7 separate regions of the Homo sapiens genome follow, and regions 2, 3, 4, 5, 6 and 7 are each linked to region 1. The links are contacts of gene promoters, found by promoter capture Hi-C in blood cells and fetal thymus (Javierre and others, 2016). All regions are on one chromosome and are shown on one strand. The core of a region is centred on a gene start or on the middle of the fragment in contact, and the rest is flanking DNA. Distances in the headings are between cores, read along the strand shown. Region 1 holds the start of DECR1 (2,4-dienoyl-CoA reductase 1). Region 2 overlaps NECAB1 (N-terminal EF-hand calcium binding protein 1). Region 3 has its middle 520 kb from the start of PARAIL. Region 4 overlaps NECAB1 (N-terminal EF-hand calcium binding protein 1). Region 5 overlaps C8orf88 (chromosome 8 open reading frame 88). Region 6 has its middle 17 kb from the start of TMEM64. Region 7 overlaps C8orf88 (chromosome 8 open reading frame 88).

Region 1 (3,120 bases), core at 165-2,664:
TCACAGAGCTGTTGTAGATTTCAAATGAGAAATGTCTCTGAAAAGTATCAGAAAATATGGGCTTCCTTTATAATGATCTATAACCCAGTTTTCACAGGGAGAGAAAAAAAATCAGCAAAACCCTAACCCTGAACAAATCTCACTTTTTAAAAGAAAGATACCTTACTTGAGGGAACCACCATACTAATTCTTTGTATTCCTATTTGGAACTACTGCTGCCCATATTTTTTGAAAAACAACACCATGGCTGTCTATTCTATCAAATCAAAAGAAGTTTTTTCACAGTTGACATATTAATTTTTCTACCTGGCTAAAGAAAATGTGCTTTTTAGTTTACTTATAACAATTTTGTAATTTAGATGTGGGGAGGGCTTGTCTTGGATATTATTGCTTCTTTTTGTTTTTGTTTCTCTTTCTTCTTCCTAGCTGTTTTCACTTCCTAGCTATTTCCACTATGGGTGCAATGGAGATGGTGACAGGAGTGTGGGCCAGAGAGAGGGGGAAGCCAGTGTGAGACGGACCTCTCCCAGCTATACATCTGGGAAGGGGAGTCTATAAACAGCTGGGGTTTTGTTTTTGTTTCATTTTTATGATAATTTGTTTGTATTAGTGTTTAATTCCATAACTAACACATAGATGGACTTTCCTCACAACAAAGGACGTCAAAGGTCAGTGCTCGCTCGGCCTGATCCCCTCTCACTCCTTAAGGGGTGGACGGGCGCCGTATCCTTCCCTACCTCTTTCTACCTATTTACACACAAGTTGGAAACTTGCAGAACTGTGAAAACTTCGAAAATCACGTCTCTTCCCTATTCCCCTACACACATCAGGGCTTCATCTGACAGTGGAATACGACCCGGGCCCCGGTGCTCACTCCCGGCGTTGCCCTTCGCTCCGGGACCTGGTGGTCCTCTCTCTCTGCGCCCCAAAACGCCCTGTCCTAGCTCCCTGAGCCCCAGGGACGCCGGGTCCTCTCTTTGTGCCCCAAGACTTCCTGCCCTTTCTCTTGCGCCCCGAGACGTCCTGTCCTCTCTCTCGCTCCCCGGGTTGCTCTGTGCTCTCTTAGCGCTCCAGAACGCCCTGTCCTCTCTCTTTGAGCCCCGGGACACCCTGTCCTCGCTCCCCGAGGCCCCGGGACGCCCTGTCCTCTCTCTCTCTGCGCCTCGGGATGCCCTGTCCTCGCTCCCCGAACCCCCGGGACGCCCTGTCCTCTCTCTTTGCGCCCCAGGATGCCTTGTCCTCGCTCCCCGAGCCCCCGTGACGCCCTGTCCTCTCTCTTTGCGCGTCGAGACGCCCTGTCCTCGCTCCCCGCGCCCCCGGCCGCCTTACCCTCCGAGGAGCGAGGCCACAGGGCAGCCGGGACCCCAGAGTAAAGAAAACCCTGGCCGGTAGCTTCATGTTGAGTCTCCAGAACTCGGGCCGGAAGGCGGCGCAGGCGGTTGGGCGCAGGGGGCGGGACAAAAAGAACAAAGTTCTCGGGGCTGGAAACGCTGCCTAGGCCGCCGGGGGATGGGACGGGGACTGGGACCCAGGCGGCGTGGACGCCCAGCGGCCCTGACCTTCAGAGTCCGGCCGAGGGCGCCGCCTAGCTGGGCCTAGCTGATGCTCTTTCCTGCTCTCTGGGCCAGGAGTGCTTTGTATGGCAGAGAATGGAGGTTCTTTGCGTCCTTGAGCGGGTGTACGAAACCCCGCGCCCTGCAAGGGTTTGCAGATTGCAGCTGCGCACCCCATACACTGCCTATCAAGGGCGAAACTCTTTTTCAGTCGTATGTGTTTATCCCTTAAGTGCGTGTTTAAGTGCAGAGTGCGCGTGGCGCCAAGTCACATATTATCAGAATAATAATATGTTGGATGTAAAACACGGCCTCACTTTCCCTAAGACCAAGAGGCTGAAAAACACTAAGGGCAGCTTCCGGCGTTTTGACTTTTCGCAGGACACACCGCCCCCTGTCGCCGGATGCAGCGTGACTGCGACCGCCCAGCCTTGGCTTTTTTCTCGAAGTTAAACACACGTTAAAGGCAAACACAGATTCAGTATATCATTCTCCATCTTAGTGTAATATACCTGTTGACACAAGGCATTAGCTCAGATCACATTTCTTTCCTCATTCGTAAAATGAGAATATTCATAGCTAATTCAGAATTTTAGATAAAAGAAGATGGGTGTGAGGCCCCAGGCTGAGGCTGATGGTAGATGATATTGAGTGTTTACTATTTGCCTGGCATGTTCCAAATGCTGATAAAGAAACATTTATATCTTCAGAGGAATGTACACTTACATGTAGACATATAGCTTATAAGGTATATAAACTCTGAAAAACTTTGTAATTTTGAGTTGGTCTGGTGATAATTTCCAGGCCTTCTGCCTGTAACTGGTTACAGAAATAAAAACTTTCTTCATCCCCAGTTCATCGACATCTCATTATTGGCAGCAAGAAATAGCAGCCTGACCCTCAGTTTGGTCCAGGAACAAAACTACCACAGATTGGGTGGCTTAAATGGAAATTTGTTTTCTCACAATTCTGGAGGCCACAAGTCAGCAGAGTTGGTTTCTTGTGGAGCCACTGTGGGACCATCTTCTCCCTGTGTCTTTACATGATCCTCCTGTGTACCTTTCCATATCTAAATTGCCTCTTCTTATGAGGACACCAGTCGTGTTGGATTAAGGCCCACCCTCAATGACCTAATTTAACTGGAATTACCTCCCTAAAGACTCTATCTCCAAATATAGCCACATTCTGACATACTGGGGGTTAAGAGTTCAATGTATATATTTGGCTGGGAGAAGAGGGAAGTACACAATTCAGCCCAGAACACTTGCCCTCTTAAATAACTTTTAGACCAGCTTAGGAGGCATTTTCTGTCCTCCCAAAAAAACCTTGAGAATATATCAATAATAAAACTTTTCCTAAGCTCTTGATATATGTATGGCACTGTTATTCTTGACTTCCAAACCAAATTGTAAGTGGGATTCATCTTGTTTCTAAAAAGAAGTTGCAACATTAGTGATACGGTTTGGATTTGTGTCCCTACCCAAATCTCATGTTGAATTGTAATCTCCAGTGTTGGAATTGGGGCCTGGTAGGAGGTGATTGGATCACGGGGACAGATTTCTTCCTT
Region 2 (3,578 bases), core at 82-2,581, 920 kb before region 1:
ATGCATGTATAATTTTGGGCTGGCTGCATGTGCTTCTGACACCCACTAGGAGAAGAAAATGATCCAGCTGTTGCTTATTCCAGAAGGAGGCTACATGAGGAGTGGGGCCAAACTCAACCTACATACAGCCTGGAACCACATCCAACTGAAATTGCCCAAATCACCAACCATAGACTCATGAGAGAGAAAAACAAGTATCTACAGGTGTAACCATCAAGATTTTAAGGTCGCTTCACAATAAAAATGGACTAATATTCCATATGACCTTGGACAAATCACTTAACTTCCCAGGCTTGTTTCCTTACCTGTGAAATGGAGAAATAGGGAAATTAACATCTATTTTATCAGGTGTCAAGATAAAATAAGGCTTTATTCATAAAAATACTCTGAAATCTTTCAAGTACAGTTGGTGAAAATATAGAATATAGCTTATACCTTGATTTTCTGAATATTAGATAAAGACTCGTGTTAAAATGACACGTTCAAGTGACATATGTGCATGTATATATGCATGCTTTATAAAAATTACTCCAATATTTAGCAACATGAGTTTGCATATTTCAAATTGATTTTAAAATGGTTATAAGTGACACAGTTAAAATTTAATAACCTAACAATTATGGGTATGGTTTAGCCCAGTAAATCTTATATCACATTACAAACTTCAAAAACACCAGCTATGACTAATCCTATTATGAAAACAAGGATCCTTTCCCCAGATGAACTTAGGATAGGCTTAGGGAGGCTTGGAGATCTAGAGCATATTAGGGTAGAGTCCCTTTATTTCAAGATCATGGGGGGTCCTTATAGACGTCAAGTCTTTTAGATGTTAGCTGATGAAGCTACTGCCTTCCCTATTCACCATCTCTCTGTGTGCTTTCCAGGCACAACTGCTAGGATTCTGACCATGCTGATTTTAGGCTCACCACCCCAGTTCTTCATACTACACTCTTCACTGCTTCTGTCTCAAACTTACTTGGTATAAGGAAAGTGTTCCATTACTATTGTCTTATCTGTTGTTTGTTAAAATAATCAATTGGAAAACGCAAGATAAATAGACTTTGACAAATAAAAACAAATGAAGGGTATGTTACCTGGACCGCTGACATTAAACTGAGGGCTGTTTGGGGAGAAGCTGTTGTGTCTCTGGACTCGGCGGCTTGATCGTTTTCCAGGCCATTGAATCGACAGGACTTCTGGCTTGGCTGGCCCTTGCCTTGATCAACAGAGATAACATTTAACCTTAATGTTAGTGCTTCAGTCTCTTCCTTCAGGGAAGAGATCTTCATGCGTCAGTCATAAAGGTTTTCTAGTGCAGCAAAATGAAAACTTATGAGAATGACTGCTTGTAAATGCTCTAGAAACCCAATGTAATTTGGTACTACAGTATGTGAACCTAAGAAAGAGAATTCTGAGCTTTCTTTATTCTTAAAATTCTGAGTAAAAATTGTAATTTAAGGTAGGCTTTTTTCCTTTGTTGGTCAACTTTCAGTGGAAAAACGTGTATGCAGCTATTGTATTTTGTTTAATTTGAAAACACTTATGGAGTTTTTTCTGTAATTCAGTTTTTAATTTTTTGGATCAAAGCTATACATCCATATATTTTTAGGAGTCAAATGATTCTATAAATCTTATTTCAACAAACAGGAGCTCCCTCGTTTCACCCCCATATCATATTCCCACTCCTCTTTCAAAAAGGCAACACTTTTTAGCAGGTGTTTACTTTCATATGAGTATATGTTATGATATGAAAGTAGCATATGTTAAAATATATATTATATACAGTATATCTTATATACTATATACAGTATATGTTATATACTGATATGAAAGTAAACACCTTCTAAATTATCAGTATATAACATGCTTAAATTGCTATGTCTTTAATTTTTAGTTTTAGGCTTTATCTATTAACTTCACAATATGAAAAGCTCAGGCCAATGATATACAAATGGAAATGTTGTAAGGAATTTCCAGGAAGGCTGCTTAAAAGTACAGATTCAGCTAGAAGGGATCCCTTTTGTCTTTCCTTAATCTTCTTTCCTGGTTGGAATGTGAACATGGTAGCTGGATCGCCAACAAACATCTTGGTCTATGAGGCAAACTTGGCAATAGTTTATTATATTAATATGCACTTAATATGTGAAAAAGAAAGAGTGTCTATGATAAATCTGTAAGGACATAATACTTAAGCTGCCTCCAACAAGATTTCTTTATAGGAGATATAATCCCTTGTGTGTAAGATATAATCCTTCTGTGTTTAAGACAAATCTAAGATTAATGTACTCATCCAAAAATTTTCATTATCTATCAGCTAGGGAAGATTCCTTTAGCCTTTCTCCTGTGTTGGATGACCTCTGATCCCCCTTTTACTAGATTTCATTTTTTTTCTTACCTGACTCCTTTGTTTTGGTGGAAAATATCCCCTAATTGCTTCATAAGAAAAGGTGCATAATGAAAGGTAAAATTCTTGAAACATTGCATGAATAAACATCTTCCTTACTTTATTGATGGTTTTATGGCATACAGATTTCTAGATTGCCAATTGTTTTGAAAAATTTGCTCCATTGTGTTCTATATCCCAGAGTCACTAGTGAAAAATCTAGTGTTTTCTTGATTATTTGCATATGGCCTGGTTTTTCTCTCTGGGAGTTTTTAGACACTTGTCTTTGTTTCCAGTATTGTGAAACTTCATAATGATGTATTTTGTGTTGGACTTTTATTAGCATTATAATGAGCTCTTGATCTGTTCTATCAAACTGGACACATATTCCAATTCTGACTATTTTTCTTAAATTCTTCCTTTGATAATTTTTCTGCTTTGTTCTCTTTCTGGAATTGCTGTTTTACAAACAGTAGACCTCTTGGACTGAGCCTCTAGTTTCCTTATCTCTTATATTTCACCTCTTTGTGGAGATTTCCTCACACTTTTATATTTCAACCTTCCTCAGAGAATGTAATTTTTGCAATCATAATTTCCAAGACCTCTTTTGTGTGCTTTGAATATTATTTTTAAAGCATTCTATCCTTAATTCATAAATGCAATATCTTTTATTTAGTTTTTGAAGGTATTGAAAACTTTCTTTTGAAATTTTTTGTCTGCTCTCTGGATTATCTGTTTCTTTCGAGTTTCTTTTCTTGTGTTTGATTTGTCCTTTTGGTTGACCCCATACATTTTAGAAGGAGGAACTACAAGTCTGACTGGAACCTCTTTGTTTGTGGCAGGGATTGCCAACTTGCAGTCTTCACTGTACAGTGGCCTGGCTGGGCCTATTCTTCAGGGAACCTTGACCATTGGCATTGTTAAGTCTTTTCTCTGGGATTAATCAGATCCCTCAAAGAAGCACGCCCCAACTGGAGTCTGAGCCCTGTTGTTAGTACTCTGGGAGTAAAATATATGAAGGAGATTTCACATCTCACTCTTCAGTATGGTGACTTTCAGTTAGTATCTCCTTTGTTAGTATTGTGTCCTATCAGCTGTGCCAGGTATACATATGCTCACCTTCTCCAGACAGCTTATGTCTGGGGTTCTTCAAGGATCGGGTAGGAGCAGTCACTATATAGCACTGGGTGGAGCT
Region 3 (3,407 bases), core at 236-2,735, 760 kb after region 1:
TCTTAGAATCAATTTTGAGTACTAGGGTGTACAGTCAAATAGAACTGCTATGCATTAAGAATTAAATGCATTTAAGAGCTTCAAAGAAAAGCATTAGTGATATTGGGACTTACAGCTTTGGCTATAATTGAAGACAAGTCATATGTTGACTCTGTTCAGAGGAGATGGTATACGAAGAGCTTCAGCAGCACCAGGCAAGAGTTCTCTGTGGGTAAACCTCAATATCCTCAGTAACAGATATCAGAAGCCTCAATGCAGACAACAGCAAGCACCAGTATCACTAACATGTTTGTCAGGCAGTGGAACCTTAACCATTGTAGATCCTGGCATCAGTAGTGGGGTATCAGATTCACCACAGAGAGCTGAAATGGGATCATGAGAGAAGGAGATCTGAGGGAACTTGTATGTAAAGTAGATGTGAGACATCTGGAGACTCTCAAAACTATTTGGGAGGAATTTGAGTGAAGCTGAGATTCTTCTAGTTCAGGGAAGCATTCAACTGGAGAAATATTAGTTTCAGTTTTGACCCTATTTTGACTTTCAGGTTACTGTGATCTTAAAAGTGTAAATTACATTTATATAATATAATAAGGCATTGTAGGGCCCTGGAAGTTATTTAATACAGAGGGGAACCTTGTTTGTCTTACTCTTAGGCATGTCCTCATAAGGCTAATTGTCCTCTGTAATCCTAGCTGTTTATATAAGTCCTTAATAAATATATATTACCCTCAATTTTTGATATAGTTGATTCAAATGTCCCATGACAGTTAAGTCTAATGTTCAAGAAGGGCACTATATGCAAAGTGAAATTATAAGGTAGATATAGTGACTGAACTTCATTGGTTTTTGCTCCAAAATAGATCTGTTAGCTGTATTCTATTAATGTATTCCTGTGCAATATCTCGATGCCTTCAAGGGGCACCAGGACCTTATAAGAAGTATATGTATATATTTATAAGTAAAATATGTTGAGTGAGAAGCAACTACATCTGCTTAGGACTGCTGAGTGGGACTAGCCAACAAAGTGAGATAGTGAAAGGTCTACTTGGAATAGCTCGGTGAATTCTACTATCACTTACCAAATTTTCAAACCAAAAACCCAGCAGTTTGTTTTAGCTTTTTTACACTCCCTGGCTCCACACCATCTAATCAGATACAAGCCTTACCAATTCTAAATTCTTAAATTTCCAGTTTCTTTGTTCCTTTCCATCAACACTGCTGCCCCTAGTTCAAGTATCCATAACTCTTTCCCCTGAGCAGGTGCTTCTTTGCTGTTCTTCCTGGCTCCAGGCTTGTCTCTCTAAGCCTGCCCTTCCACATGCTATCAAACTAAGGTGCAAACCTCATTTCCTTGCTCAAATTTCTTTAATGGTTCCTTCTTCATCTGGGTCCTCCTTATCTTCCTTCACTTCCTTCTATAGTCAAATCAAGACCCACACAGTGGGAGGAATAACCCCAGCTCTCAGCAATGCAGAAAAAAATAAAAAATAAAAAAAAAACTGGCCAGCAACCTAGCTTAAAGGATCTTCACATTCTGCGGCAACGACTCTGTGGACCGACCAAGGAAGGAGAAGGGGCAGGAACCAGTAAAGTACTTCCCTGGTGGTCAAATTCTAGAGGGCTAAATGTGTGTGTGCATGAGTGACCACAAACAACCCTGCTTGCGGTGTTGTTCTTGTGGATGGTGACAAGTCCTACTGCTGGACAGAGTGAGTGGGTCCTCTCTGCGGTTCCATAGCTACCTCATATGGCTTAGGGTGGATCCTGCCATGGGATTTATACTGGCACACCAACACTAAGAGGGGCCTAATTCTCCCTTGAGGGAGCAGCCAGAGAGGACGACATGAGTGGGAAGTGTGCAAGGGACCTTCAGAGGGGGAAAAGGAAGAAACAGGTCAGCCTTCCAGGGCAGCAAGGCAAGACACCCCCTGGTGTGAGAGTTTGAGCCTTCTGGGACAGACAAGGCAAGACATCCCTGGTGTGAGGGGTTGAGCCTTCCACTAATTTCAAAGGTCGAACCTCACACAAACCCCCTCTTTCCTTTCTTCTCAGGGGAGGAAAGGATAGCTCCACTCCCACTGGTCCCTCCCCTAGGGGAAGGGGAAGGGGAAGGAGAGGGGAGAACAGCAGCACATGTGGCTGGCAGAGAGAGAGGAAAGAGAGAGAGAGAAAGAGAGAGACAGAAAGAGACAGAGAGACAAAGAGGGAGTCAAAGAGAGAGAGAGGCAGAAAGAGAGAAGAAGAGACAGAGAGACAAAGAGGGAGTCAGAGAGAGAGAAAGAGAGAGACAGAAAGTCAAAGGAGAAAGAAAGAGAGAAAGACAGAGATAGAAGTATTAGGGAAAACAAACAGTGTACTCTATTCCTTTAAAAGCCAGGGTAAATTTAAAACCTATAATTGATAATTGAAGGTCTTCTCCATGACCCTATAACACTCCAATACCACCTTGTTGTCAGTGTGAACAAGGGCATAACCTGAGAGCACTGAGGCCACTGATAACCCATAGCCTTCCTAATCAAAAATCCTTAACCCAGTAACCCGTGGATGGCCCAAGTACATTCAATCTGTAGCGACAACTGCTTTGCTAACAGAAGAAAGTAGAAAAATAACTTTTAGAGGAAACCTCATTGTGAGCACACTGCACCAGTTCAGAACTATCCTAAGTCAAAAAAAAAAAAAGGGAAAAGGTAGCTTACTCACTCAAAAATCTTAAAGTATGGGGCTATTCTGTTAGAAAAAGATGATTTAACATTAACCACTGATAATTCCCTTAACCCAGCGGGCTTCCTAACTGGGAATCTAAATCTTAATTAATTACCATATAAAGGTCCAACCAGACCTAGAAGGATCTCTCAGGACAGAATGATAGATGGTTCCTCCCAAGTGATTGAGGGAAAAAAGACACAATGGATATTCAGTAAGTGATAAGGAAACTCTTGTAGAAGCAGAGTTAGGAAGATTGCCTAATAATTGGTCTGCTCAAATGTGTGAGCTGTTGCACTCAGCCGAACCTTAAAGTACTTACAGAAGCAAGAAAGAATCTATACCAGTTCTAAGTTAATATGGACTGAATGAGGTCTTAATAGCAAAGAATAATTGAAATCCCAAACTTACAAGGTTTTCAACAAAAGTAAAGTTTGCTAAAAGTTAACACTGTAACATGTATTATCCTAACTTCTAATCTTGTGGCCTTAGACAGTCTAGTCCACAGACATGAAGGAAGTTTGCTTTTGAAAAGAATGGTTATCATCTTTGGGAAAAAAAAGGAGGGGAGGGAAGAATTTCTGTAAAAGGAATGTTATATGATAAATTGTTGTCCTAAAATAAATTAACTGGTTGTTTAAAGAAAACGATGTTTGCAACAAGTCAGAAAGTTGAGGCATGTTGAAGAATTGTCTGTAAAAGTC
Region 4 (3,156 bases), core at 93-2,592, 940 kb before region 1:
ATTCCATATGGGTGTAGTGATTCCCTGAGGCTCATTCCATCTGATATAGTCTACATTTTGATAATTCCAGTAAAAGAAATTACCTGAAAAATCAGCAATAAGAAGTGAACGAAGAATTGTATGAAACAAACCAATCTTGCAAAGTAAACAGAGAGGCTGAAAATCTATCTTACAGGAAAAAGATGCTCTCCTTTCCTCTACTTCACAGCAGGAGCTGATGGAGCAATTTATTGTGGTTATTGAGAGAATGGAATTTGCAGCAGGCGGCACAAATCTATCCACTCTCTCACTCCCCCACAGCCTGTTTCCCTTTCCCTGGGGCTGTTCTAGTAGCTCGAGGTCATTTTCCCAACACCCATTAAAGTAGTGTTTCTGAACCTAAAAAATAAACTTGTGCGCCTTTTTTATAAATATAAAACATGCACTCAATCCCTGGAGATTGTAATACACTGAAATAGACTTTATCTTCTCTGTATCCTCATTAAAAAGAGTTTACTGAGCTCTATTTTGGGAAGTTTACACTGTGAACGGTGTATATATAGGTACTGTTTGCATTTTTCTTTTTTTTTGAAACAGAGTCTCGTTCTGTCATCCAGGCTGGGGTGCAGTAGCGCGATCTCGGCTCACTGCAACCTCCGCCTCCGGGGTTCAAGCGATTCTCCTGCCTCAGCCTCCTGAGTAGCTGGGATTACAGGCACATGCTACCATGCCCAGCTAATTTTTGTATTTTTAGTAGAGACGGGGTCTCATCACGTTGGTCAGTCTGGTCTCGAACTCCTGACTTCGTGATCTGCCTGCCTCGGCCTCCCAAAGTGCTGGGATTATAGGCGTGAGCCACTGCACCCTGAATTTTTAAATATTCAATTTTATTTTCAAATGAGTGGGCTCTTAAAAACTACACATATTCCCACCTTTGCAAGTCTTGAGTCACTGAAGTAAAAAGGACTAAAATGGGGTTTTGATTTGTGCCCTCTGAGTCTGGCGTGAAATAGAATAATAAAAATAATCATGGAAACACAGCATTTCCTGTGTTCTTGTTTCAAAGGCACTACTGGAAGATGATGAGCTGTTAGTGGCACTGAGGAAGTACTGTACTCATACTCTAGAGAGGAGGTCAGCCACCCAGACAACCAGGAAACAGTAGTAAACGCAATAGTGACTTCAGCTCACGTCTTCAGTGGATGGGAAGCATTGTGCTGAGCACTGCATATGGACTGTCTCACTGAATCCTCCCAACCATCTCATGAGCCTCTTGAGGAGGAAACTAAGGCTTAGAGCCAGTGAGGGTCTTTCTCAAAACCACAAAGCTAGTAAAATTCCATGTTTATTTCCAGAGCCAGACTTCTTAGCTAGAGAAATATTCTGCTGGGGTATGAATAAAATATAATTAATTGAACACTGAGAGGAAAAGCAAAACACCCAGAGACATGAAGTATCTGTTTATGCACACATGTACACACACATACACAAACACACACACATTTTCTAAAAACCTTCCCAAAGCAACATTTGAAGAGCATTATGAAATATAGTTTAAGCAAGCTCATAAGGTAGGGTTAGACTTGGTTGTGGAAGTTTTCTAAAAGCAGATGAATTTGGACCTGGGCTCTGAACTTGAGGCAGTGCATGGGCTGGCAGAGACTTGCAGCTGGGTGCACATTTCTGAGAGGAAGAATAGCCAGGTCTGAGGCACAGTGGGGAACAAACAGATTATATCAGAAATTCTATCTGTGCATCACCGAGGCAGAGTGTTTAGATGAGGGAGAACAAATAATAGTAGTGATATGGATTCCTGGGTCTGTCAGTAGGATTAAATATAGAGTCAGGACAAATGTCTAGCCTTTGATAAGATACTCATTAGAGAGTTACTTTAGGTTCCCAGTTAAGGGAATTCTATGATAACTGTTTCCAGAAAATTATTATAGTAACTATTTATTGAACCAGTTGGAGTGAAAAAATTGAAGATGAGGAATAGTATATTTTAGTAGCTTGAGATATCCGAAGCCTGAGCTGGGTGGTACCCATGGAAAGAGGAAAGAAAAGATCTGCTGCTGCTTCATTTTCTTTTAATGACCAAGGCCTGAAATCATGACTTCAGGGATGCCTGCAATTTCCTAATGGCTGAAATGGTCATTAGGCCACAGGGCGTACTGCCAAGGGAGCAATCACAGCTAGATGTCCTAGAGTTGGCGCCTCATCTACCAGAGATGATTTTAAATCAGAGTGTGGGCTGCCTGGATGCAAAAGGGAATTTCAACTTATTTGAAATTCAGTCTCTTCATTCAAGTTGTTCTATTTCATTTTACTTGGTGCCCCAATGATCAGACGACACGGGGTTTAAAGATTAGACGACACGGGGTTTAAAGATTAAAGAGAAAACATTCAGTTAAAGGCAGCAAATGACATCACCCAGGTGGAATGCTCTGTATAATTTAATGTGAGGATTCTCAAATATCTGTCTTCTAGACCCCCAGCCTTGTCTAAAGTAAGAAATGCCTTCACTGTATTCCCAGGCTGCCAAAGGCCTAAGGTGCAGGAGTCGGAGCACTTACCGCAAGCATCCACTTTGGGAGGAAGCACTCTCCACGTAGTGTTTCAGAGCGAGCTGGAATTCTTCCAGGTCCTCTTCTATCACAGACATCTGCCGCTGCACAAGCATGATGTGCTGCCAAGGAAGGGGCGAGGGTCACTGCGTTGGCTGTCACGGAGCCCGATTTAAGCTGACTCCTACTGCCCATCCCATTCCTCCTCACAAAAACAGATGATTGTCATCCAAAAATATGACCAAGGAAGGCCATGACTATTCCAAGTATAAAACTGTATAAAGGCTGTAATCTAGGCAAGATATTTTCCTTGCCTCTAGTCCCAGAAGCTAAACAACGTGTTCTTTACAATGACGTGTTTCCCTTTAAAAGCAGTGATTCTCAATGACTCGAGAAGTTTTAAAATTATCTTTATATCAAAATCTCTGGGAGTGGGGCCCAGGCACTGCTATTTTTAAAACCTCCCTAAGTGTCTGTATTGTGCAGGCAGAGCTGGGATCACTTCCCTATAACAACTTACCAATTTTTAAAGAGAAGTCCTATTGTTCATTGCACAGCTCCAATTTCTTGAATATTTTGTGATATTAGACATAAGTGACAATCATTACAAACA
Region 5 (3,466 bases), core at 216-2,715, 960 kb before region 1:
TGGTTTTTACAGGCTTTGGGTTAGAGTCCAGGGTTCTGAGAAAGTTGATTCTGACAGTTTTTATGAGCTTACTTGTTGTTTTTGTGGAGTGAAAGACTTTTAGAGTTCTCTACTTGGCTATTTTCCCTGACTTCACTTACCTCCATTTCTTGAATTTTATGTTTTCTTCTTTATTGATTTATGTCCTCATTTTGCTCAAGTACATTCTCCAGGAGTTTCGTGAAAAAAGGGTATTGGGTTGGTGAATTCTTTGAGTTTGCATATTTGAAAATATCTTTATTCTGTTCTCACACTTGATTGATGGTTTGGCTACGTAGAATGTTCCAGATTAAGGATGAACCTCAAAAATGTTAAATGAAAGAAGCCAGACCCAAAATTTTTGGTAAGTTAATTTTTCCTCGATGTATTTCAGAACTGTGTATTAGGAACAACACATTAATAATTGTTACCTGTTAGTTGATAGGATGTAAGGATAGTAATTCAACCCTTCTTATTCCTAGTCTTTTCATGTGTATCTTTTTATATCCATTTACTTTCAACTTATATGCCTTTATATTTAATATGTGTCTCTTGCAGACAGCATATAATAGGGTCTTCTTATTTTTTAAATCCACTCTGTCAATTTGTAGTCTTTAATGTAATGTTTAGGGGGTCAGTAAATTATGGTTTACAGACCAATTCCTGTTTTTATAAATAAAAATGTATTGAAACATAGCCACACCCTTCATCTATATATTATCTGTGGTGGCTTTTGCTTTTAACAGTAATACATATTTCTTAAAATAAAACTTAGAGAAAAAAAGGAATCTGTTATACTTACCCACCTATTTACCATCTCTTTTGCTCTTCATTTCTGAACAGTAAAGTTTCCATCTAGTATAATTCCCTTCAGCCTGTAGAAATTCCTTTAGCATTTCTTGAAGGTCACATCTGCTAGTGATGGATTCTTTCAGTTTTACTTTATCTGAAAATGTCTTTCCTTCACATGTATTTCTGAGGGTTTTTTCCCCCCCACTGGACATGAAATTCTGGGTTACCGTTCTTTTCTTTTAGCACATTAAAAATATTATTCCATTGTCTTCTGGGACAGCATATAATCTGTCTTGGTGATTGTTTCTGGTAATCATTTCTGATTTGAAATCTGCAGATATTTGAAACATTGTTCTCCTTGAAGATAGGGGCCCTATCTTGGGTCCTATTCATTATTACCTAGCACAGTTCCTGATACATAGTAAGATGTACAATAAATGTTTCTTGAATTTATTTTTATTGTGTTAAGTTTTTAGTATTGATTGAGACTTGATAGACTCATTAAAGTAACATTTTGGCAGATCTGAATTGCCCAATAGTTATTACTGTGGTTATATTTTACACAAGATCATTTTACTAGACCTGAATAACCAGATGAAAAAAGCCATGCATTTCCCATTTTCTTAATTATATTTCTTTCATTGTTTCCTTGGTTACTTGGTTTTCTTTCTATGTAAAAGGAGAATTGGAGGCAGTAGATGCTTGTCAAAGCCTTTTTTCTCCTTCTCTTTTGCATAGACACACGACTCATCATTTTATATAATGAATAGAGGACATCCAGAAAGAAATGAACCAAAAAGTGATCTAGACAGCCCTACATTTCCTAACATTATATTTGATGTTTAATATCTACAGAGAGAATTAAATACAGCAGAGATTTCCTGTTGAAGCTCTCAAGTGTTTCCATCTGCAGAAAAAAACCAGACTTTCTGCCTGATCATCCCATTGTACTGCAAAAACCAGTAAGTAGTTTTCTAAGTTTGTATTGTAATATTATATTACAAAATATTTTTCTTTAACATTTTCATCAGACTCTACCTCTAGATTTTTAACCTTCCTTATTATAAGATATAAGTAATTCAGAAAACTACAAAAATCTAAAGATATAACCAATTATTATAAAGTAACTCTGTTCAAAAAATAGAATGGAATAGCTGTATTTTGTTTAAGAAATATTTTTAATGGAAAGGTCATGAAAATATTATCCCATACTCTAAAAGTTTTATTTTTTCAATTAAATTATATTGTCCACCTGGAATTAATTTTACTCTATGATGTGAGGTGGGCATCAAGTTTTACCTTTTTCTACATAGATATCCAGTCATTTTAAAAATATTTATTGAAAGGGTACTTCTCTGACATCTTTGTGGCAATGTATGCATGGTCTGTTAATGGGCTATCCATTCTGTTCAATTAGTCTTTTTATACATTATAACAAATCATCTCATGTATTTTTCTTTAACATGTCTTTGCTATTCTTAGCCCTTTATATTTCTGTGTTACCTTATCAAATTCCATCTAAATAAATACACATAATAAATACATACATGCATCTCTTAGGATATTCATTGGAAAGGACATGGATTTTGTCATCAGACATGGCTTCAAATTGTAGCTCCATTCTGTGTACCGGTAGTTCGAACTTGGACAAGTCACTTAACCTCATTGAATTGCTGATAAGGATGATAAGTTTTGCAATTGCTGATAAGGATGATAATCTCTGGCTGTTAGGATTAATAAAATAATGCATGAGATTACTGAGTATGATACCTTTCTCTCATTATGCTTTTAGTAAATGATTCCCATTCTTTGTGGTCTCTACTTACATTTGACTGGAATTTAACTTCCTATTAGAGTTTTCGTAAATACCTTTATATAGGTAAAGGCAGCTAGGACTCTTCTGAAATGAGATTCAGAATATAGGTATACTGAGAACAGTTCGAATGGGAGATAAACACTACTACCTTCTATCTCCATTTTTGGTATTCTAATTCTTTGGAATTCATAGTATTTTTTTCCTCAAATTATAATTTTTAAAAAACATTATGTTGTTCATAGTTTATATTAATATTTCTTAAACTCCCTAACTTTAGATCTCTAGCCAATTCTTTTTAAAGTTAATTAAAGCAGGAATTAAAATTTTTTATAATACTTCTCATGCATAAATATTAAATAAGAAAAAATGTACTTGATGTTTCAACTTTCCCACCGGTTCAAAGATCTTTGGGATATGTAATCCATGGTCTGTAAGAATAAATGTAAACTTCAGTGCTATATAAACTATAGTCACTTTTTCATTTGTAGACTTTCCATCTTTAATAACATTTTATTGTGTAAATAAAAGCTTGACATACACTTTTTAAAACAAACTTGTACATTAGAATTCATTTTACTTGTGATTTACACATTAATACATATTTTAAACCTAGGTGCCACAGAAACAGAAGAACAGGTTTGGAATACAATTTAATATATTTTAAAATGAGTTACATATATTTTAAAAACATGAGCCGTTTTGTTATTTGACAGTTCTAGTTACTTTAATAGTTTCTATGGTAACATGCATTTAAATCTGTAAACACCTGGTACGTTCACAGTATTTGGTTTGATAAACTAATTAGTAAAAACTGTATTCAATCAATTGATAAATTAACTT
Region 6 (3,571 bases), core at 807-3,306, 660 kb before region 1:
CAGTCTTCAAGAAATATTGGACTATGTACAGCAACAAAGCCTATGGATTATTGGTATTCCTGAGAGAGATGGATAAAAAGAAGACAACCTGGAAAACATATTTGAGGGAATAATTCAAGAGAAATTTCCTCATCTTCCTAAAGACATACACATTCAGATACAAGAAATCCAGAGAACACCTGCAAGATGCTATATAAAACAAATATCACCAAGGCATATAATCACCAGTCTGTCTATGATTAATGCTAAAGGAAAAATTTTAAAGGCAACTAGAGAAAAACGTCAGATTATGTACAAAGGGAACTCCATTGTGCTAATAGGAGACTTCTCAGCAAAAGTCATACAAGCCAGGAGAGACTGGGGACCTATTTTCAGCATTCTTAAAGAAATGATACTTCAATCAAGAATTTCATATCCCATCAAACTAAGCTTCATAAACGAAGGAGAAATAAAATATTTTCCAGACAAGTAAGCACAAAGAGACTAACTTTACAAGAACTCCTTAAGGGAGGAGTGCTAAACATGGAAATGAAAGAATAATATCTGCTCCCTCAAAAAGACACTTAAATACATAGCCCACAGACTCTGTAAAGCAACCACACAATAAAAACTACAAAGCAACCAGCTAATAACTTCATGATAGGATCAAAATTTCACATATCAACATTAACATTGAATGTAAATGGTCTTAACACCCCACTTAAAAGCCACAGACTGGCAGGTTGGATTAAAAAAACAAGACCTAGGCCTGGGGTGATGGTTCATGCCTGTAATCCCAGGACTTTTGGAGGCCGAGGTGGGCAGATCATTTGAGATCAGGAGTTTGAGACCAGCCTGGCCAACATGGTGAAACCCTGTCTCTACCAAAAATATAGAAATTAGCTGGGCGTGGTGGCATGTGCCTGTAGTACCAGCTTCTAGGGTGGCTGAAGCATAAAAATTGCTTGAACCCAGGAGGCGGAGGTTGCAGTGATCACACCACTGGGCAACAGAGCAAGACCCTGTCTCAAACAACAACAACAAAAACAAAAACAAACCGTCTATCTGCCGTCTTCAAGAGACCCATCTCATGCGTAAGGACATCCCATGCTCAAAGTAAAGGGTTGGAGAAAGATCTATCATGCAAATGGAATGCATTAAAGACAGAGGTGACTATTCTTATGTTAGGCAAAACAGACTTTAAACCAACATTAAACCAACAACAGTAAAAGAGGACAAAGAAGGACATTACACAATGATAAAAGTTTCAATTCAACATGCAGACTTAACTATCCTAAATATGTATGCACCCAATGTTGGAGCACCCAGATTCATACAACAAGTACTTCTAGACCTATAAGTAGAAATAGCCACACAATAATAGTAGAGAACTTCAACACTCCACTGACAGTGTTAGACAGATCACCAAGACAAAAAACTAACAAATAAATAGCGGACTTAAATTTCACATTTGACCAGTTGGACCCGATAGACATCTACAGAACAGTCCACTCATCATCCTCAGAATATACATTCTTCTTATCTGCACACAGAACATACTCTAAGACTGGCCACATGCTCAGCCATAAAGCAAGTCTCAGCAAATTCAAAAAAATCAAAATCATACCAATTATACTTTCAGACAAGAATGGAAAATAGAAATCAATACCAAGAAGATCTCTCAAAACCTCACAATTACATGAAAATTAAATCACTTGCTTCTGAATGACTATGGACAAACAATACAATTAAGGCAGAAATCAAAAAGTTATTTGAAATAAATAAAAACAGACACAACATACCAAAATCTCTGAAACAAAGCAAAAGCAGTGTTAAGAGGAAAGTTTATAGTGCTAAATGCCTACCTCAAGAAGTTGAAAGCTCTCAAATTAACAATCTAATATCACACACAGAGGAAGTTAAAAAAGAAGAACAAAGTAACCCCAAAGCTAGGAGAAGGAAAGAAGTAACCAAAATCAGAGCAGAACTGAATGAAATTGAGAACCAAAAATCATATAAGGGCTCAATGAAACCAAAAGCTGTTTCTTTAAAAAGATAAAGAAGATCAATAGACTGCTAACTAGATTAACAAAAAAACAAAACAAAACAAAACAAAAACCCAGAAGATCTAACTAAGCACAGTCAGAAATGATCAAGGTGACATTACAACAAACTTCTTGACATAAAACAGTTCCAGTGAAGGCATTTTAACAAGATAACCCATGAGCAAAACAAAACAAAACAAACAAAAACCTAGAGGGATTTTCTGTCCAATTTTGCAGTTGGAACAAAGCAAAATAAAGTGCTATCTGTTTCTCTGTCAAAAAAAGTTAGAAAGGATAAAAAGTACTAAGCCGATTTTTAAAAATTACTTGTAATAACACTCAAAGGGAAACATATTGGTATATTTCCTTCCAGTGTTTTTATGCATATTTTCAATATACATTTCTTATACACTAAGTCCTCATTTTATGTGTCAAAATAATACTGCCTAGCATAAAAGGGAATATCATACAAGTTCAGTATTTAGTAAAAAATTAGAAGGGAGCCAAAATAAAAGATAATATGAAACAGACTAAAATACTAGCGGGGAGGGGAAGGGACTCAGAAAACAGTGGGAGTAATTAAGAAGGATGACCCTCAAAATGAGAGAACCTAGTGAGGATCTTAAGTTCCAAAATAAAATTGAGATAACTTAGACAATAGATCGCATATTGCTTTACAGTTTAACCTGTAATAAAACCAAGAAGGACACTTTTTAGGTCACTCTGTAGCTTGTTGCACCAATATGAAACTAATATAGGGAAGAATCTTGGGCTATTCATACCCAAGTCTAAATGCAACCCAAGGAATAATGCTCAATACATTCTTTCTGTGTCATCACAGAGCCAATTTGTTATTTGGCTTTTTGACTTTTAACCTGAGGAATGGCTCCAGGACAATTGTGTTTTTGAAATAGGTACTGTATTTATGGGCTGTCAGAATATTTTTTAAAAGGCATATTTTATATACTGGGTATATGAAGAGGAATTATGCACAAATGCCCCCCTAGAAAAAGTCCCTTTATTAAATAGATTTTCCAGCTTATTCTCAATTGAAGATTTTCATTAACATTAGAAGGGAATGTTATTTCATCAACTTATAAGGCAATAAAAATATAAAAACAGGAATACAAAGATATTAATCTTAACTTCACGTGCATTAAATCTGAAAAGGAGTTTGGTCAGATTTTTTTGTGCAAATGAAAAATATTTAACTGTTTTTAAATATTAAACTAGTTTTGTTATGCAAAGCAGTATTTTTCCTGTATTTATTAATACTTATTAACAAACTCAAGCCAATTCCTTTTATTTTATGAACTTTTAGAATACCATTTTTCCAAAGGGCATAGAAGAATAACAAATATCACATTTGGCTGGGCGCAGTGGCTCACACTACACGGTGGCTCACAATGCTGTAATGTCAGCACTTTGGGAGGCCAACATAGGAGAAAAACTTGAAGACAGGAGCTCAAGACCCCGTCTTAAAAAAAAAATTACATTAAAAGTGTTTACATGATTTCTTGGTACTTAACTTTTAATATAATGATATC
Region 7 (3,199 bases), core at 700-3,199, 980 kb before region 1:
CTTATTATCCCATTGTATTTTAGACAATTCTAGGTTTACTGGTAATATCAGGACTGATAAGGCCTGAAGATTCATACTTAGGTAAATTTTTTAAAAAGAAAAGGAACCTAAGATATAGTTAGTATTGCCAGGTGTAGAATAGCAACTGTAAATAACTAACTGATTTACCAATATTCTATTCATACAACTTGGTCTTTAAAGATGATTTGTTAAGTGTGTGTGATCTTGAAAAAAACTATTCAGCAACCATTTCTCAGTATGTATTAATAGAAAGTTTTTTTGGAGACATTGGATCAAAATATCCTTTAAAAAACATTTATACCACAAAACTATACATTTACATTTTTAAATTTACATTTTACAACCTTATGATAGGCCCACTACTTGCTACCCAATGTTGTAGGCAGAATTCTGTTTATTTTGTAACTGTGCTTTGAATCGTTGATATGATACATGGCTACTCTAGGTAGCACCAGTAGCTTCAAGGGAAACTTTTTGATCTCTACATTCCATGGATGAAGCAGGCATTAGAGTTTAAGACTGAATTTGTTTTGTATAATGACTTTGTAGTGCAGTTAAGTCTTTATTATTTTTAACTAAACTGAGAATTAGGTTTTGGTTTATGGAGTTCTGCCTTAATTATAATCTCGTGACTCAGTTTTACAATAATAATTACTTTTTATAAATACTTAACCTTTTTCATTAATAACATGATGGTGGAATGTACTATGCATTGTAATCCCAAACTTGTCCCCTATAATGTCAGTGTTTCCCTGCAGGCATCGTTTACTTTAAAAAAAAATATTAAACAGAGTACTGAATGACACCATCTTTTCTAATTTCCTTAACTGATGTGGATTTATATACAGGGAGCCATTGCTGTATCTTTCCTACTGTAAATTGAAGGGTAGGTGGCACCAAAAGAGCTTTGATTTTTTGTTTATTTACTTGTGTTGCAAAGTCATATAATGGAGTTCTGTAATCCCCAACTCTTGAAAATCCCTAGTTTGAATACTGTGGATTTGCCTTGCTCAGCGATTGGAAAAGACTTAACAACCTACAACTAAATTTCAGCTGAGCAATGAAAAACAACGAAGTGTGTGCCAAAGTACTCTATCCTATTGTATTCTGATTCACTAGTTTCATATGGGGAACAGGATGGAAAGTTACTACATACTAGTATTAGGGTCTTAACTAAAATAGCTAGGATAAACATCAAATAAAGCAATGTATATTAGGTTGCTTTTTGGTCCTTATTTTAAATATACTCTTCTACATAGAAAATATTAATAACTTTATTTGAAGTATTTTTTCTATTTGTGCTTATAACTTTTTTTTCATCTTGTTATATCCAATTGTATTGCACAAAAAGTACAGAGAGCATTAGTTTTGCCACGTTGAAATACTAGCTAACAGACACATTACAAAGCTGGGTTGGTATTAACTTGAAGTACTTGCTGGGTTATCTCCAAATAGTAACTTTTGGGTGCTTACTTATCATTCCTAATTTTGAGAGGTTGTTTATAAGTTTATAATTTTAACATTTGAATTATACATGTCCAAAGATATTTAAAAAATAGGATAAAGCATTTCTGGGAACTTAAAGGGTTACTAACTCTATCTTATACTTGGTGAAATAGGCACTTAGACTTATGATTTGCTTAATATCATATGGTTACAATTATTTCTGGATAAGCAGGTGCAAAATCAAGTGGAGTTTTATTTTTGACTTTGTCTTGATGGGCATCAAAATTTGGAAATCTTGTGTCCCATACAGGTGTCAGATTTTAGTTGCAATGACGAGGTACTTAGCGTTTATAGAGTTTATTTAATAAATCTATGTTGCAGATACTAGAATACAAAAATAAATAAGGTCTGGTTTTTGTGGCCTCAACTAACTGATAGTCCAATAAGTAGACATGTAATATATTTACTGTGATATATTTTAGAAAAAGTGATAAAATACAGTAGGGACCAGTGAAGGAGGAATGTAAGGAAGGAGGAATTATTATTATTGTTATTATTATTTTATTATTAGAGAACTTCATGTAGACTATTTTATTTAACCTTACCTGTTGAGACAGGGGGATATTTTCCAAGGAAGTGGCAAGAGCTTGATCTTGGTCTTGACAGATAAATAGCTGTTTGGAAGAAGAGCAGCAGAGATAGTAAGGGAACTATAGACAAAACACTTGAATGTCCAAATATATGGTGAAACAAAATAACATTAATATTTTGGAAGTAGCGTGAACAGAAATTAAAGACTGATTTTGGAATCAGAGGCTCTAATTTAGCCCATCAAATTGAAGGCAGTTTTACCAAGTGTGGTCCAAGGGAGTTGGTGATGACTTTAAAGGAATACAGGAGTTAAAGTTATTAATTAGATTTTAGATATGTTGAATTTGAGGTACCTGTGATAATATATAAATTGAAATATTATTAGACAATTAGAAAAATAGAACTGGAGTTTAAAAGAGAAGTAGATTCTGGAAGTATAAATTAGGGCATATTTATCATGTAGATAGGAGGTTGCAGCCGTGAGCATAGATGAGTTTTAGCTAAGAAGACCAAAGCCAAATTCGGAAGAAAGACAGAAGAAGAGGAATCAGCTAAGGAAGTTAGAAGAGACAATCGAAGAAATAGGAAACAAACCAAAAGAACATAGCTGGGGCAACATAGTGAGACCCCATCTTTAAAAAAAATATATTAGCTGGGCATGGTGGTTCATGCCTGTAATCCCAGCTATTTGGAAGGCTAAGGCAGGAGGATCTCTTGAGCCCAGGAGCTTTAAGTTGAAGTGAGCTATGATTGTGCCACTGCAGTCCAGCCTGGGTGACAGAGTGAGACTCTGCCTCAAAAGAAAAGAAAAACAGAAATATAGAGTCAGTAAAGTTAAAGAAAATGTTTCAAAGAGGGAATGTTTAACTGTGACAAATGCTATAAAAGGAGTCTGAGTATTGCATATTAAATGCTTTTTTGTGTTTGTGTTTTCCACTTTAACTTGTAAAATAGGCATCTTAAAAAAAGATGTAGTTATTTGTATACATGTAAAGCATCTTGATTATTTTGTCCAAAAGATAAAAATGTATTTTTTTGTCTTCTAGTATGGAACCTCAAAGTCTTTGTGACAATGGAAACCAAAAAATTAATTGGTAAACCGCTTCAACCAGCAAGACCTGTTCGTCATCTGACTTCTCCC

The links. The method cuts DNA at HindIII sites, captures the fragments that hold promoters and counts their contacts. A CHiCAGO score of 5 or more calls a contact.
Region 2: a fragment that was not itself captured here is called in contact with the fragment with the promoter of DECR1 in region 1 in 2 of 17 cell types (total B cells and naive B cells); the score reaches 8.1 in total B cells.
Region 3: a fragment that was not itself captured here is called in contact with the fragment with the promoter of DECR1 in region 1 in 1 of 17 cell types (non-activated CD4 T cells); the score reaches 5.8 in non-activated CD4 T cells.
Region 4: a fragment that was not itself captured here is called in contact with the fragment with the promoter of DECR1 in region 1 in 13 of 17 cell types (naive B cells, total B cells, naive CD8 T cells and 10 more); the score reaches 27.2 in naive B cells.
Region 5: a fragment that was not itself captured here is called in contact with the fragment with the promoter of DECR1 in region 1 in 13 of 17 cell types (naive B cells, total B cells, total CD4 T cells and 10 more); the score reaches 13.3 in naive B cells.
Region 6: a contact is called between a fragment that was not itself captured here and the fragment with the promoter of DECR1 in region 1, in 9 of 17 cell types (total B cells, M0 macrophages, monocytes and 6 more). The highest score is 7.2, in total B cells.
Region 7: a fragment that was not itself captured here is called in contact with the fragment with the promoter of DECR1 in region 1 in 15 of 17 cell types (naive B cells, fetal thymus, total CD4 T cells and 12 more); the score reaches 21.3 in naive B cells.

What each region holds. Positions count from the first base shown.
Region 1 is chr8:89,999,771-90,002,890 of GRCh38, reverse strand. It overlaps DECR1 (2,4-dienoyl-CoA reductase 1), which reads right to left and starts at 1,414. Exons shown (of 10, transcript NM_001359.2): 1 at 1,330-1,414. The coding sequence starts at 1,398. RefSeq lists enhancers at 788-927, 1,776-2,070 and a silencer at 1,398-1,497. The HindIII fragment of the contact is 6,361 bases long and covers 1-3,120 here.
Region 2 is chr8:90,923,173-90,926,750 of GRCh38, reverse strand. It overlaps NECAB1 (N-terminal EF-hand calcium binding protein 1), which reads right to left. Exons shown (of 13, transcript NM_022351.5): 7 at 1,095-1,216. All of the region lies in intron 1 of LOC105375634 (a long non-coding RNA gene), which reads left to right. Among named protein-coding and RNA genes, the nearest start is that of C8orf88, 60 kb to the left of the region's middle. The HindIII fragment of the contact is 6,117 bases long and covers 1-3,578 here.
Region 3 is chr8:89,238,408-89,241,814 of GRCh38, reverse strand. No RefSeq gene overlaps it. Among named protein-coding and RNA genes, the nearest start is that of PARAIL, 520 kb to the left of the region's middle. The HindIII fragment of the contact is 4,416 bases long and covers 1-3,407 here.
Region 4 is chr8:90,940,295-90,943,450 of GRCh38, reverse strand. It overlaps NECAB1 (N-terminal EF-hand calcium binding protein 1), which reads right to left. Exons shown (of 13, transcript NM_022351.5): 10 at 2,553-2,665. The region is part of intron 1 of LOC105375634 (a long non-coding RNA gene); the gene reads left to right. Among named protein-coding and RNA genes, the nearest start is that of C8orf88, 43 kb to the left of the region's middle. The HindIII fragment of the contact is 7,402 bases long and covers 1-3,156 here.
Region 5 is chr8:90,959,048-90,962,513 of GRCh38, reverse strand. It overlaps C8orf88 (chromosome 8 open reading frame 88), which reads left to right. Exons shown (of 6, transcript NM_001190972.2): 5 at 1,666-1,772. It overlaps NECAB1 (N-terminal EF-hand calcium binding protein 1), which reads right to left. Exons shown (of 13, transcript NM_022351.5): 13 at 3,121-3,466. Among named protein-coding and RNA genes, the nearest start is that of C8orf88, 24 kb to the left of the region's middle. The HindIII fragment of the contact is 3,382 bases long and covers 1-3,156 here.
Region 6 is chr8:90,661,268-90,664,838 of GRCh38, reverse strand. No RefSeq gene overlaps it. Among named protein-coding and RNA genes, the nearest start is that of TMEM64, 17 kb to the right of the region's middle. The HindIII fragment of the contact is 3,250 bases long and covers 432-3,571 here.
Region 7 is chr8:90,980,367-90,983,565 of GRCh38, reverse strand. It overlaps C8orf88 (chromosome 8 open reading frame 88), which reads left to right. Exons shown (of 6, transcript NM_001190972.2): 2 at 3,105-3,199. The coding sequence starts at 3,131. Among named protein-coding and RNA genes, the nearest start is that of C8orf88, 3.3 kb to the left of the region's middle. The HindIII fragment of the contact is 5,795 bases long and covers 1-3,199 here.